Regions from separate parts of the Homo sapiens genome. Here regions 2, 3, 4 and 5 are each linked to region 1. The links are contacts of gene promoters, found by promoter capture Hi-C in blood cells and fetal thymus (Javierre and others, 2016). All regions are on one chromosome and are shown on one strand. The core of a region is centred on a gene start or on the middle of the fragment in contact, and the rest is flanking DNA. Distances in the headings are between cores, read along the strand shown.

The links. The method cuts DNA at HindIII sites, captures the fragments that hold promoters and counts their contacts. A CHiCAGO score of 5 or more calls a contact.
Region 2: a fragment that was not itself captured here is called in contact with the fragment with the promoter of SLC25A53 in region 1 in 1 of 17 cell types (monocytes); the score reaches 5.3 in monocytes.
Region 3: a contact is called between a fragment that was not itself captured here and the fragment with the promoter of SLC25A53 in region 1, in 2 of 17 cell types (neutrophils and activated CD4 T cells). The highest score is 5.8, in neutrophils.
Region 4: a fragment that was not itself captured here is called in contact with the fragment with the promoter of SLC25A53 in region 1 in 1 of 17 cell types (naive B cells); the score reaches 6.4 in naive B cells.
Region 5: a fragment that was not itself captured here is called in contact with the fragment with the promoter of SLC25A53 in region 1 in 1 of 17 cell types (total B cells); the score reaches 5.4 in total B cells.

Annotation. Positions count from the first base shown.
Region 1 is chrX:104,155,742-104,158,515 of GRCh38, forward strand. It overlaps SLC25A53 (solute carrier family 25 member 53), which reads right to left and starts at 1,268. Exons shown (of 2, transcript NM_001012755.5): 1 at 1,137-1,268. It also overlaps a transcript of FAM199X not described here. RefSeq lists an enhancer at 1,042-1,341. The HindIII fragment of the contact is 6,927 bases long and covers 1-1,478 here.
Region 2 is chrX:103,582,534-103,585,233 of GRCh38, forward strand. It overlaps a transcript of TCEAL4 not described here. Among named protein-coding and RNA genes, the nearest start is that of TCEAL4, 1.6 kb to the right of the region's middle. The HindIII fragment of the contact is 1,593 bases long and covers 477-2,069 here.
Region 3 is chrX:103,635,107-103,637,848 of GRCh38, forward strand. No RefSeq gene overlaps it. Among named protein-coding and RNA genes, the nearest start is that of TCEAL1, 7.5 kb to the left of the region's middle. The HindIII fragment of the contact is 8,309 bases long and covers 1-2,742 here.
Region 4 is chrX:103,600,854-103,603,553 of GRCh38, forward strand. No RefSeq gene overlaps it. Among named protein-coding and RNA genes, the nearest start is that of TCEAL3, 5.8 kb to the right of the region's middle. The HindIII fragment of the contact is 2,991 bases long and covers 1-2,700 here.
Region 5 is chrX:103,566,282-103,568,981 of GRCh38, forward strand. No RefSeq gene overlaps it. Among named protein-coding and RNA genes, the nearest start is that of LINC02589, 13 kb to the left of the region's middle. The HindIII fragment of the contact is 4,593 bases long and covers 1-2,700 here.

The DNA.
Region 1 (2,774 bases), core at 18-2,517:
AGAAATAAACTAGTTGTGGGGACCGGGCGCGGTGGCTCATGCCTGTAATACCAGCACTTTGGGAGGCCGAGGCAGGCGGATCACTTGAGGTCAGGAGTTCGAGGCCAACCTGGCCAACATGGTAAAACCCCGTCTCTACTAAAAATATAAAAATATAAAAATTAGCCGGGAGTGGTGGTGGGTGCCTCTAATCCCAGCAACCCGGGAGGCTGAGGCAGGAGAATCACTTGAACCCGGCAGACGGAGGTTGCAGTGAGCGGAGATCACGCCACTGCATTCCAGCCTGGGCGACAGAAGTAGAGAGACTCCTTATCAAAAAAAAAAAAAAGAAAGAAAGAAAGAAAAAAAAAAAGAAATACACTAATTTTGGGCCTTAAATGCTACTCAGTTCTCCAGTTCACCTCAACAGGGAGGGAAGGTGCTTGGAGGAAAATTGCACTTCGTTTTTGCCCTGCTTATTTTGTCTTCAAAATATATGTTAAATCACCGCATCAAAGAGCCGTCCCAGATCTCAACTCCCAGATGAGTTCGGTGGCACCCAATAGATTTTCATAACACAGGATCTATCTCTGTCTCCTTGTATTGTAATAGCCTGTCTCCAAATGCAGATAGCAACCGGCAGGCTGTAAATGTCGAGGAAAAAGCCTAATTCCTTTCCTCATCCGGAGCCTCTAGTGCAGTACCCAGCACAGAGCAGGTACTTGGTATTTTGGTAAGGGAAATCAATCAACGCATCAATAGCAGAATCTGAAACCAGGGACCTAGATCTTTCCAATAAAATCATCCTGCTGAGATGTGACTCAGATGTACTGGTGCCCAGCAGACAACACGTTTTCGCCCTGATTTTATCCTCCATTCATCCGTCCGCCCCCTCCCCCATAGACCCCGCCTGTCCCCAGCTAAAAATAATGAGGGGATTCACACATCTCAGTGTCAACACACACAACACAGTTGACACGCCCCTTAATCCTACAGCTACGCCATCAATTCTCGCCGCCGGGTCCGTCCGCTTGTCAGTTTCCCCTACTCCTCATCCCCTCGCAACTTCTGATCCCCTATCACTTCCGTTCCCGTTTGCCTGCTAGGCTGGAAGCAGGATGTGTCTACGCCCTCAGCCCATAAGAAGTGCTACAAACCTCCGCCTCGCTCGCTGTCATGGCGGCGACCGACGGCCCCTTTCCTGTGGCCTCAGAAAGCAGCGACAGTCGCAGTCACCGGACCTTCGCCCATCCGCCGCCCTCACTTAAGCGACGCACAACGGAGCTCCCACAATCCTCTTTGCTTCCGCTCTCTTTATTTCCGCCTCCCCCGCCCCCGCCTCGACATTAACCGTTTCGCGACTACGTCAGTTGGCCGGTCTGTTTGGGAGAGCCAGGCGACTAATCTGGTATAGAGACCGAAAAACACAGGTAAAAAGACCTAAAAGACTTAGTCATCTATTGGAACATTTCCCCAGTTTGTTTGTAAGTTGGCTTGCAAGCTTATCAGTCATTCTCAAACAGGAGCTTAACTTACTTAGGTGAACAGTTCATGATGACGCCTTTAAGCTGCTAGACCAACCCAAACTCCGAATTTGCAGTTTCTGACCTTTCACCTTGAACCTGTGCCCTTTCTACCCTCTATTCTCCATCTCCTTTTGGTTCTTGTCTGACTCTTTAGCTGCATATGTAAAGAGCACAGACTTTGAAACCTGAGCTCCCGCGTTCGAATCCCCACTGTACCACTATCTAAACATGGCATCTTGGGCAAGTGATTCAAGCATGCTATTCCTTGGCTTTTTCATCTGTAGAATTGGTATAATAATAGTACTTACCTCCAGAGTTGCAGTAAAAATATTAAAATTTCACATGTGAGGAGCACCTAGAACATTGCCTATCATGAAGTTAAGCAGTATATTGAAATATAAATTATAATGATTGAATTTGATCTCACCTAAGACCTCTGGCTAATAAATAATAAATGATAATAATCATTTCACCTGGGATAGAGGGGATTGCCCTGTTCTCTCCAGGCTGAGGCTGTAATACCTGATTCTAGGGACTGCTGATATGGAAATTACTACCACTCTGGCTGGAGTCAGAAGAGTATATTAAAGAGTCTCTTTGTACTGTCCTAAAATAAGCAAAATCCAACGTTTGCAGTTCTATGGACCACGCACTATGATAAGTGCTTTAAACCCATTTTGTTGTTATTGCTTCATCCTCACAATAGCCCTTTGCTGGTTCTTAAGTGTATTACCCTTTCCTGTCCTCTTTGTCTGCTTAAAGCAGCTAAGAAAACTCAGATTAGTCAGATTGCATATAAATCAATAACTTGCCCACGGTCACAGAGCTAATAACAAATAGAGCCAAGACTTAAACTCAGATACATTCAGATGTGTCTTGGTATTTCTCAAATATCACTGAGAAAAAGGCCACCATAAATTCTTTTCAAGTGCTCTCTCTCCCCCAACTCCCCACCCCAAGAATTGCCTGAATGCCCATACAGAAAGACTAGGTTCTCTTCAGAAGCAGAAGGGCAGAACCCACTAAGGCAAAGATCTCTCCCTTGAAGGCTGGCAGCCAAGGAGGTGACTATAGTAGGAATTGGCATAACCAGCTCACTCATTGCCCTCCACTGTGCCACACAGGCCCCATTACTTCCTATAGTACTGAAGACCACTGGGGATAAAGGTACAGGGCCTTCACCTCATCCCACCGTTCTGTAAAGCTTGGATATTAGCAAAGATCTTGCTTATTTTAGGACAGTACAATGAGACTCTTTAATATACTCAT
Region 2 (2,700 bases), core at 23-2,522, 570 kb before region 1:
GCATGGTACTGGTACAACAACAGACATATAGACTAACAGAACATAATAGAGAACTCATAAATAAGACCACACACCTAGAACTATCTGATCTTCAATAAATCTGACAAAAACTAGCAATGGGGAAAGGATTCCCTATTTAATAAATAGTGCTGGGAGAAATGGCTAGCAATATGCAGAGAATTGAAACTGGACCCCTTCCTTATACCATATATAAATATTAACTCAAGATGGATTAAAGACTTAAATGTAAAACCCAAAACTACAAAAACCCTATTAGAAAATCCTAGGCAATACCATTCAGGACATAGGCACAGGCAATTGCAACAAAAGCAACAATTGACAAATGAGATCTAATTAAACTAACGAGCTTCTACACAGCAAACAAAACTCATCAGAGTGAACAGACAACCTACAGAACGGGATAAAATTTTTGCAATTTATCCATCTGACAAAGGTCTAATATCCAGTCTCCAAGAAGCTTAAACAAATTTACAAGAAAAAAACAGCCCATTAAAAAGTAGGCAAAGACATGAACACACACTTCTCAAAAGAAGACATACATGAGGCCAAAAAACATGTGAAAAAAACCTCAACATCACTGATAGAGAAATGCAAATCATAACCACAATGATATACCATCTTAAGCTAGTCAGAATGGCTATTATTAAAAAGTCAAAAAACAACAGATGCTGGTGAGGCTGCAGAGAAAAAGAAACACTTTTACACTGTTGGTGGGAGTATAAATCAGCAACCATTGTGGAAGACTGTGGCGATTCCTCAAAGACCTGGAACCAGAAATATCATTTGACTGAGCAATCTCATTACTGGGTATATACCCAAAGGAATATAAATCATTCTGTTATAAGGATACATGCACCCGTATGTTCATTGCAGCACTAATCACAATAGCAAAGATATGGAATCAACTGAAATGCCCATCAATGATAGACTAGATAAAGAAAATGTGGTACATATACACCATGGAATACTATGCAGCCATAAAAAGGAATGAGATCATGTCTTTTGCAGGCACATGGATGGAGCTAGAAGCCATTATTCTCAGCAAACTAATGCAGGAACAGAAAACCAAACACCATGTGTTCTCACTGGGAGCTGAATGATGAGAACACATGGACACATGTCAGGGAACAACACACACAGGGGCCTGCTGGGGGCAGGGAGGGAGAGCATAAGGAAGAATAGCTGGTGGCTGCCAGGCTTAATACCTGGGTGATGAGATGATCTATACAGCAAACCACCATGGCACATGTTTATCTACATAACAAACCTTCACATCCTGCACATGTGCCCCTGAGCTTAAAATAAAAGTTGAAGAAAGAAAATTATCATTGTGGGTAACTATTAGAAGTGAAATTACTGGCACAAAAGATCAAATATTAATTTTTTTTTTTGAGACGAAGTCTCACTCTGTCGCCCAGACTGGAGTGCAATGGCGTGATCTCGGCTCACTGCAACCTCTGCCTCTCGGGTTCAAGCAATTCTCCTGCCTCAGCCTACCGAGTAGCTGGGATTACAGGCGCCCACCACCACGCCCAGCTAGTTTTGGTATTTTTAGTAGAGATGGGGTTTCACCATCCTGGTCAGGCTGGTCTTGAACTCCTGACCTCAGGTGATCCACCCGCCTCAGCTTCCCAAAGCGCTGGGATTACAGGTGTGAGCCACCGTGCCTGGCCGATATTTTTATTTTTAAATAATTTACAAAGTTGATCTTCAGAAAAATTTCACCAACATATTCAATAAGAGCAGGGGAGAGTGCATGTGTCCCCAGTCCTTCAACAAATCTGTTAAAAATTTTCATGTAATCTAATCTATCAGCATTTGTCTCTTTGTTGTACAGTCACACTGCGTATCGATTGGTCAACGACAACGGACAGCATAGAATACGATAGGCTATAGTATGTAGCCTAGGAGTGTAGTAGGCTATACCATATAGATTTGTATAACTACACTCTACGATGTTCGCACCACCACGAAATTGCCTGATGCATTTCTCAGAACATATCCCCGTTATTAAGTGGCACGTGACTATAAAGGCCTTCCACACCAAAAGCTTATGTGGAGATAAACGGAGTCTACCCATAAGAGAACAAACAAGTGCTACTTATTCACAGCTTTTTTATAGCAAGGAAGTCAAGCCACCATCATTTGAGTCTGGCAGAGATTCAAAGACAGGCAGGGGAGTGGGAAAGCTTTATAGTGGAAAACAAAAACACAAAGACTTCAGCTACGCTCTGATTGGATGTTGTTGACGTGAGGAAGCTAGAGGCAGGCCAACTAGAGGCAAGCATCCTATGTGATTGAATATGGGTTCATATTTGGGTTTTTCTTGTTTGTCATCAGGTCAAAAAAATTAAAAAGGCCAGAAAGGCTAGCAAATTGATTAAAGTCCTGAACATTTCTGCAGATGCTATACTTTGGCTTTTTGAGCTGCTTGCAGCAAAGGTTGTGGGTCACAGTTCTATTTTCGTATGTGGTCTGGTCATTGTATATTCAGTTTCTCACTTAAGATAAATTAATCGTTGTTTTATTTTGCTTCAAATATAACTTTATTTTTTATTCATTTGAAAATTTATGTTTGTACATGTCAGGAAAAAGGGACAATTTCATTTATTTTGGAAAATTTTTCTTAAGTTTTTTCTAAAGGGCAATATTCTATTCTTTATACAGTACTTAAGTTCA
Region 3 (2,742 bases), core at 221-2,720, 520 kb before region 1:
CTTAGGGCATCATTGATTTAGACTTGCTGAGTATGGTATTCTTGTTGGTTTGTGGATTTGAGTGAGTTTTCTCATTTTTATCTCAATCCAGGTAGAAATGTCTAGTAGGCAGTTAGATATGTGTTTGAAGTTTGGAAAAGAGATTAGAATGGAAATATCAATTTTGGCTTATGATACCAGGAACATAGCAAGTGGCCCAGGAGTATTTGTTGAATTAAATGAATGAATGAAGAATGCAATTGTATACTCTTCTATCCTTTTCTATGAATATGTATTTTTCAAACAGAAGTGGGATTCTACTGAACACACTGGTTCATATCCTGTGTGTAAAAAAAATAAACTTTTTCTTTAAACTTTCTTTTTACCAAGATAATACCTGTTTCAGGAGAATGTTTACATATTGAGGTAAGTGCCACCCGGTGATCAGAGTCAGGATTGTGGGTCAAACATGGCTAACAAAGGAGAGCAGGGAGGAGAGAAACTATGAGAGGAGAGCTGGTGGAGAGGCTTGATATTTGGGAAGGGAATGTCTCAACCCTGACTCACACTGGAACCACACAAGTATCAGGCTCTTCTTGGGGATTGAGGTGGCCCAAGAAGCAACATATAGTTAGGTGGTTTTTCCTTGTCTCAAGTCAAGATAAGCGTGTGCATCTATGTGTGCATATGTATGTGTGTTTAAGCTGAATTGTCTTATACTATTTTCACTTTTTCTCTGATTGTAGAAGTTATATATTTCTACTAGAAAATATATGGAAATGCAGAAAAGTGTAAGAAGAAGATGCCTACAGTTCCCAATATTGAGGAGCATGTACTTACATTGTGTGTGTATATCTCCTTTTATGTATTCTATCCATTTACTTTGTTATAAAGTAAACATATATATTATATTACATATATAATACATTTAAATGCCTTTATGTATTCATTTTTATATATGTAATTATATCTTACAGAGCATATGTTTTCTTTTCTTTTTTTTTTTTTTTTTTTTTTTTTTGCTCTGTCACCCAGGCTGGAGTACAGTGGCACGATCTCGGCTCACTGCGACCTCCACCTCCTGGGTGCAAGCGATTCTCCTGCCTCAGCCTCCCAAGTAGCTGGGACTACAGAGGCATGCCACCATGCCTGGCTAATTTTCTTTTTCTTTTGTATTTTTAGTAGAGATGGGGTTTCACTGTGTTAGCCAGGATGGTCTTGATCTCCTGACCTCGTTTTCCACCCACCTTGGCCTCCCAAAGTGTTGGGATTACAGGCGTGAGCCACTGCGCCCAGCCTATTTTCTTTATTCTCTTACTTTTATTTACATATGTGCCATGACATTCATCTGTATGAGTATTCCATCAACCACACTTCTTGATGGTGATGTCAATGATGAAAATAAAATTGTGCTCTTTGGTCTCAGGGACCTATGTCTGAGGGCCACATGTATGGATGGGCTCCCCAAAAAGCATAAGGCAAGGGAAAGATCACTGGCTTTGTTTGGAGTTGAGGAAAGAAATTTAAAATGGTCAAGCACCTGCTTTGGGACAGATACTTCATACTTGGAGTTTCCTTTAATCCTTTTAACACTTTTAGGAAGGTATTGCTTATTATAGATGAGAAAACTGAAGCCCCGAAAAGTTTAGGTGGCTTACACAGGGTCACACAGCCAGTCAATGGAGGAACTTTATTTGAACTCAAATTTGTCTGACTCTTAAGTCTGACCTTTTAACCATTATGCTTTGCTTGCTCCTAAAATTTCACACTTTCTCTCTCATTGCCAAATCTAGTGGCATTCATCTTTTAGATGTCAGAAAATTTGTGAACACTCTGCTATTCTCATGCCCCACTGTTATAGGGTTTGAATTTTTATGCTACAAGCATGCTTCTGCAATCAGAAAAATTAATAAAGAATTATCTTTCAAAATATTTAAAGTAAAAAATGTATCTCAAAGAATATTAAATGGCACATGAGAAACTGTAATGAAATATTTAAACATATATTATAGATTTAGACATAATATCTTTTAAAAGTAAAAAACTCTGCTCACCCAATAGAAAATGGGCAAAGTACATGGAGCAGTAACTCACATAAGAAACTATATACATACATATATATACACACATATATATGTGTATATATATGTATATATGTATATATACACACATATATGTGTATATATGTATATATGTACATATATACTTATATACTATATGTTATAATAAAAACATATTAATAGATGCCATGTATACATATATAATATACTTACACATACATAAATATAAATACATATATAGTCATAGGCTCTAAATGACATTACGTAAATGGCATCCTATCCTATGTTTCATTCAGCAAAATGTTCTTTTTTTCATTCAATAGTATGTCCTGGAAATCTATCCATATTATTACCTATAGATCTAGTTCATATGTAGCTGCTGCACCTATTGCAGACTCTGAACATACTGCAATGTATTCCCTAATTATAGAGATTTAGGTTTCCAGTGCTTTACTGTTATAAACACGCTGAAATGGCCTTTCTTGTTCATGCCTCCTTGTATATCTGTGTATTTCTTAGGATTGGTGACTAGAAGTGGAATTGTTGGGTCATGAGGTGCATTTAGGGGCACTGCCAAACTGGCTTCTCTAATGGACATTTGTCATCTGAATTCTTGTGAGACTTTGACTGGTCTGGTCTAGTCAAGCCTTTGAGGCTAAGCCTGCATGCCTTTGCTGATGCTGCTACTTCTGTCTAGACTGCC
Region 4 (2,700 bases), core at 199-2,698, 550 kb before region 1:
ATAAACATATTCTAACAAATCAAGGAAGTCCCTTTCTGTCTCTTCCCATTTAATAAGGGCTTCTATTATAAATACTTTTTTCTTCATCTATTAAAATAATCATATGATTGTTAGACTTTATTCTCTTAATGTGGTAAATTACATTAATTGATTTTCAAATATTATACCAATCTTTCATTTCTGGAATACCTTAACTTGTATGTAGTATATTATTATTCTCATATATGGTCAGGTTCTTTCTTCTTTAAATTTTTTTTCAGTTATGTCAATGAGTTACATTGACCTATATTTTTCTTTTCCCATAATGACCTTGTCGGGTTTTGATATTAAGGTTATACCAAATCTTAAAATGACTTGCAGAGTATTCTCTCTTTTTTAATTATCTGGAAGACTGTGTTGGATGGATATTATTTTCTTCACTAGTGAAGTTATCTGGGCCTAAAATTTTCCTGGTCGGAAACATTTTGGAAGATTTTAAATATGAATTTTATTTATTTATTTCTTATTTATTTATATTGAAATCTTCAAGATGAGGTTTTATCTGAATACAGTAAGTATTGTGGTTTAATAATCTGTACCTGATAAATCAAATAATTCAAATCATATTGATCTATTTGTGTTGCCTGTTGTTTCTATTTGTTACTCATAACGTATTTTTTTCGTGCACCTGGTTATCTTTGTGTGTGGATATTGTATTTCAGCAATTGTTGTAATAATCTAAGGCCTAAGATGATAAAAATCTTACTCTAGAGAAGATTTTATTTGCATTGGTCAGGCCCATAAGAGTGCCTCCTGGCCAGGTGCGGTGGCTCACGCCTGTAATCCCAGCACTTTGGGAGGCCAAGGTGGGTGGATCACAAGGTCAGGAGTTTGAGACCAGCCTGAACAACATGGCGAAACCCTGTCTCTACTAAAAATACAAAAATATTAGCCAGGCGTGGTGGTGCATGCCTGTAATCCCAGCTACTCAGGAGGCTGAAGCATAAGAATTGCTTGAACCTGGGAGATGGAAGTTGCAGTGAGCTGAGATTGCGCCATTGCACTCCAGCCTGGGCAACAGAGTGAGACTCTGTCTAAAAAAAAAAAAAAAAAAAAAAAAAAAAAAAAATGCTTCCTGTTTGTTACCACCATAATATTTGTTCAGAACTTACAGTTCACTAGTCCACCCAGATGATGCAAAGCCAAGCTACAAGACTTTGTAAGGGCTAGTATATTTTTTGATTACAATTACCCTGAAGGTATAAACATTTGCGGTTCCCAGCATACTATGGGTGATGGTTTGTCAGGAAACACTCCACCCCTTTTGATGGGCCTTGGGCTCTGACTTCTGTTACTATAGTGCCTTGAATGTGCCATAAGTTCCACGCAGTTTAGCACAGGCTTATTACTCAACCACAGATACCTTCAATAAAAATATAGTTTTAAGTCCTAGGCTTACCTCTCTGGATGCTTCTGTTCTCTTGTAGTATAACCTAGCAATTCCTCACAATTGTATTAATTTTGTAGCCTTTTAGAGATCTGACGTTTTGTAGTTCTTTTCAATGGGTGGGTTGCTCTAAATCATCTAGTCCGCCATTACCAGAAGCAGATACACACACACACACACATATATACATATACACACACACACACACACACACACACACACACACACACACACACACATATATATACCTGTTTTCATCAATGGGATATTTGAATAATCATGCAAGAGGATGCAAAGATGAATATGGCACAGTCTCCATCTTTAGGGGGCTTATAGGGGGATACAGAAATGGAAAGAGCCAATTACAAAACCTAATGAGTGTTAACAATGGGGAAATAAAGGTGCTAAAAGAACAGATAAGGGATCTAGACTTGAGAGTTCAGGGATGGCTCTTCTTTCAGAATGTGATTAATTTCTTTTTATATCAAAAGCCCATTAAACAGAAGAGGAGTTAAACCTCTACTCCAACCTTTGTGAACACAGAAAGCAGGTTCAGCTATGAGCCAATTGGAAAACAGCTTCTTCGGAGACTGAGATTTTCTGAGCAAATCACCATGTATCAGCATAGGGACCATAGAAGACAAGATCATATCTGATGTCCCACATCTGACCACCTCCCTGATGAGCTACCACTATTTCTCCCAGTGCACACGTGCACACACACACACACACACACACACAAACGTGGAAAGGTACAAGGATATATGGTACAAAAACCTTTGTTAAGGGCAACATGAAAGGTAGAGACCCTGTGCAACAGGGGAAGGAAAGATCACTTCCAGCTAGGGTGGCTTCAGAGGCTGAGTGATGAGGGTTGGCCTCTAAGAATGGGCAGGACTAGGACCTCTAGGGGGAATAAGAAGGCAGTTGGCAGGAAGTAAATGACACATAAGGACAATGAGAGGGAAGAATAAGGCATACTTGGGGCACATTGAGTGAGGGCAGAGAAGTGCATGACTAGGTTGAGAATGTGTGTCCTGGGGCTCAATTCTGATGGATGCTGAATGTCAGGATGAAGAGTGCAGAATTTACTCTGTGGGTGGTAGGTTTACCGTCAGCGCCTTCAAGCAGGAGAATGGCAGTTAAAAGCAGGGAAGAGTAAAGTTTAATTTGATGGTAATGTACAAGATTTATCTTAAGGAAGGGGCAGGGCTGGAAGCAGGAAAACTAGAGAAGAGATTATTCTAAGAGTTCAAATGAGAAATGGTGAAGCT
Region 5 (2,700 bases), core at 147-2,646, 590 kb before region 1:
GTACTGGCTGCTGCTTCTCTTTTTTTTTTTTTTTTTTTTTTTTTTTGAGATGGGGGTCTCGCTCTGTCACCAAGGCTGGAGTGCATTGTTGTGATCATAGCTCACTGCAGCCTCTAATTCCTGGGCTCAAGCAATCCTCCTGCCTCAGGCTCACAAGTAGCTGGAATGGCAGGTGTGCACCACAATGCCGGGCTGAGGTGTTTTTGTTGTTGTTGTTGTCGTTGTTGGTTGGTTGGTTGGTTGTTTTTTGCAGAGATGGAGGTCTATTTTGGCCAGGCTGGTCTCTAATTCCTGGCCTCAAGCAATCCTCTCACCTGAGCCTCCCTAACTGCTGGGATTACAGGCATGAGCCACTGCGCCTGGCTAACTTCTGAAGTCACTGCTTCAGCAACTTAAAAACCATACCAATAGACTGAGGATTTCCAGAATTTTTTTAAATTGAGAAGCAGATGGATTCATGAGACTGCTAACCCCAAATCCATCAGAACAAGAGTTAATCATATATGACTGAATTATCTGATGAGGGATTATTGTAGTTTTTTTTAAATATTGCTGATGTTGTTCTATGTTCTGGATATATAATGCAGACTTGTCTTTCTTACATATCTTTAACCCATAACAATTTAGTAGACTTGGCATTTGTAAACTGAAACAAAATATTTGCAAATTATCTTTTTCTCTCTGATACCCCCACCATCTGTAGAATTCACAAATTCAAATTAGGTATTCTACTTTTCATGGTAATATAGTGATCTATACAGGTTCAATAAGAACTTGTCCTCCTTTTAACCAGGATATATTAATAATTGGCAAATTTGGTTATGCAAATAAGGCCTTGTCTGAAATATCATATTTGAGAATGATGCTCACTTAATCAAGTATAACCAGCTACAGTTAGAGAATTAAAATTTAAACTAGAAAGCCCACTGAGGAAAACTGACTTAGTACCTGGCTTTCAGGGTCCCAGCCTTATAGGTGAGAAACGAAGGCCAGGACCTCTGAGATAGTTTGATAACCTCAAGAAGAAAGAATTGGCCCAAATTATATATAGTGCAGGTGAAATCCAGTGAGAAAAGTTTCTTGAGTTTCCTTCATAGCCTCAGGATGAGCAAATAATAAGAGGCTTTTAAAAATCCAATGTGAAAAACCCACAGCTAACATCAAATTCAATGGTGAAAGCCTGAAAGCCTTTCCTTTAAGATCAGGAACAAGACACCTGCATTCAAAATAATTTTGGAAGTTCTAGACAAAGCAATTACATGAAGAAAAAGAAGCATTCAAATTATAAAGAAAGTAAAATTATTTCTGTTCACAGGTGACATTACCTAGTTTGTAGAAAAATTTAAGGATTCCACAAAAGAACTGTTCGAACTAATAAATTCCGCAATGTTGTAGGATACAAAACCAACACATAAAAATCAGTTGCATTTTTATACATTGACAGTGAACAACCCAAAAAGAAAATTAAGAAAACAATTCCATTTTCAATAGCATCAAAAAGAATATAATAATTAGGAATAAACTTAACTAAGGAGGCAAAAGACATCTGCACTGAGAACTACAAAATGTTGATGAAAGAAAATTTAAAAGACAGAAATAAATGGAAATGCATTCTGTGTTCATGGATTGAAAGACTTAATATTGTTAAGATGTCAGTACTAACAAAAGTGATCTATAGATTCAATCCCTATCAAAATCTCAATGATGCAATGATGTTTTTTGCAGGAATAGAAAAATGCATCCTAAAATTCATATGGAATCTCAAGGGATACTGAATAACTAAAACAATCTTGAGAAAGAAGAACAAAGTTGGAGGTCTCACACTACCAGATTTTAAAACTTACCAAAAATCTACAGTAATCAAAATAGTATGGTACTGGCATTAAAGACAGACAAATAAACTAATGAGATAGAATAGAGAGCCTAGAAATAAACTCTCACTTATATGATAATTGATTTTTGACAAGGGTGCCAAGACCATTCCATGAGGGAAAGGACAGTCTCTTTAATGAATATGTGAGGAAAACTGAATATCCACATGCCAAAGAATGAATTTAGATACTTCCCTTACACCATATACAAAAATAAACTCAAAATAGATCAAAGCCCTAAATGTAAATCTAAAACTATCAAACTCTTAGAAGAAAACATGGGGGGGAACCTTCATGACATTAGTTTTGGCAATGATTTCTTGGATAACAAAAGCACAGGCAACAAAAAATAGATAAATTGGATTTATCAAAATAAACTTATGTGCATCAAAGGACACTAACAACATGGTGAAAATGCAATCCATGCAATGGGAGAAAATATTTGCAAATCATATATCTCATAAGGGACTAATATTTAGAATATATAAATAACTCCTACAACTCAACAATAAAAAAAATAATCGAATTAAAAACTCGGCAAAGGACCTGAATGACTATTACTCCAAAGGAGATATACAGATTGCCAATAAGTACACGAAAAGATGCTCAACATCACTAATTAGTAAGGAAATGCAAATCAAACCACACAATGAGATACCACTTCACATTCATTAGGATGGCTATTATACGAGAAAAAAAAAATAACAAGTATTGGCAAGGATGCAGAGAAACTGGAACCCTTGTGCATTGTTGATGGAAATGTAAAATGGTACAGCCACTGTGGAAAACAGCATGGCAATTCCTCAAAAAATTAAACATACAATTAATA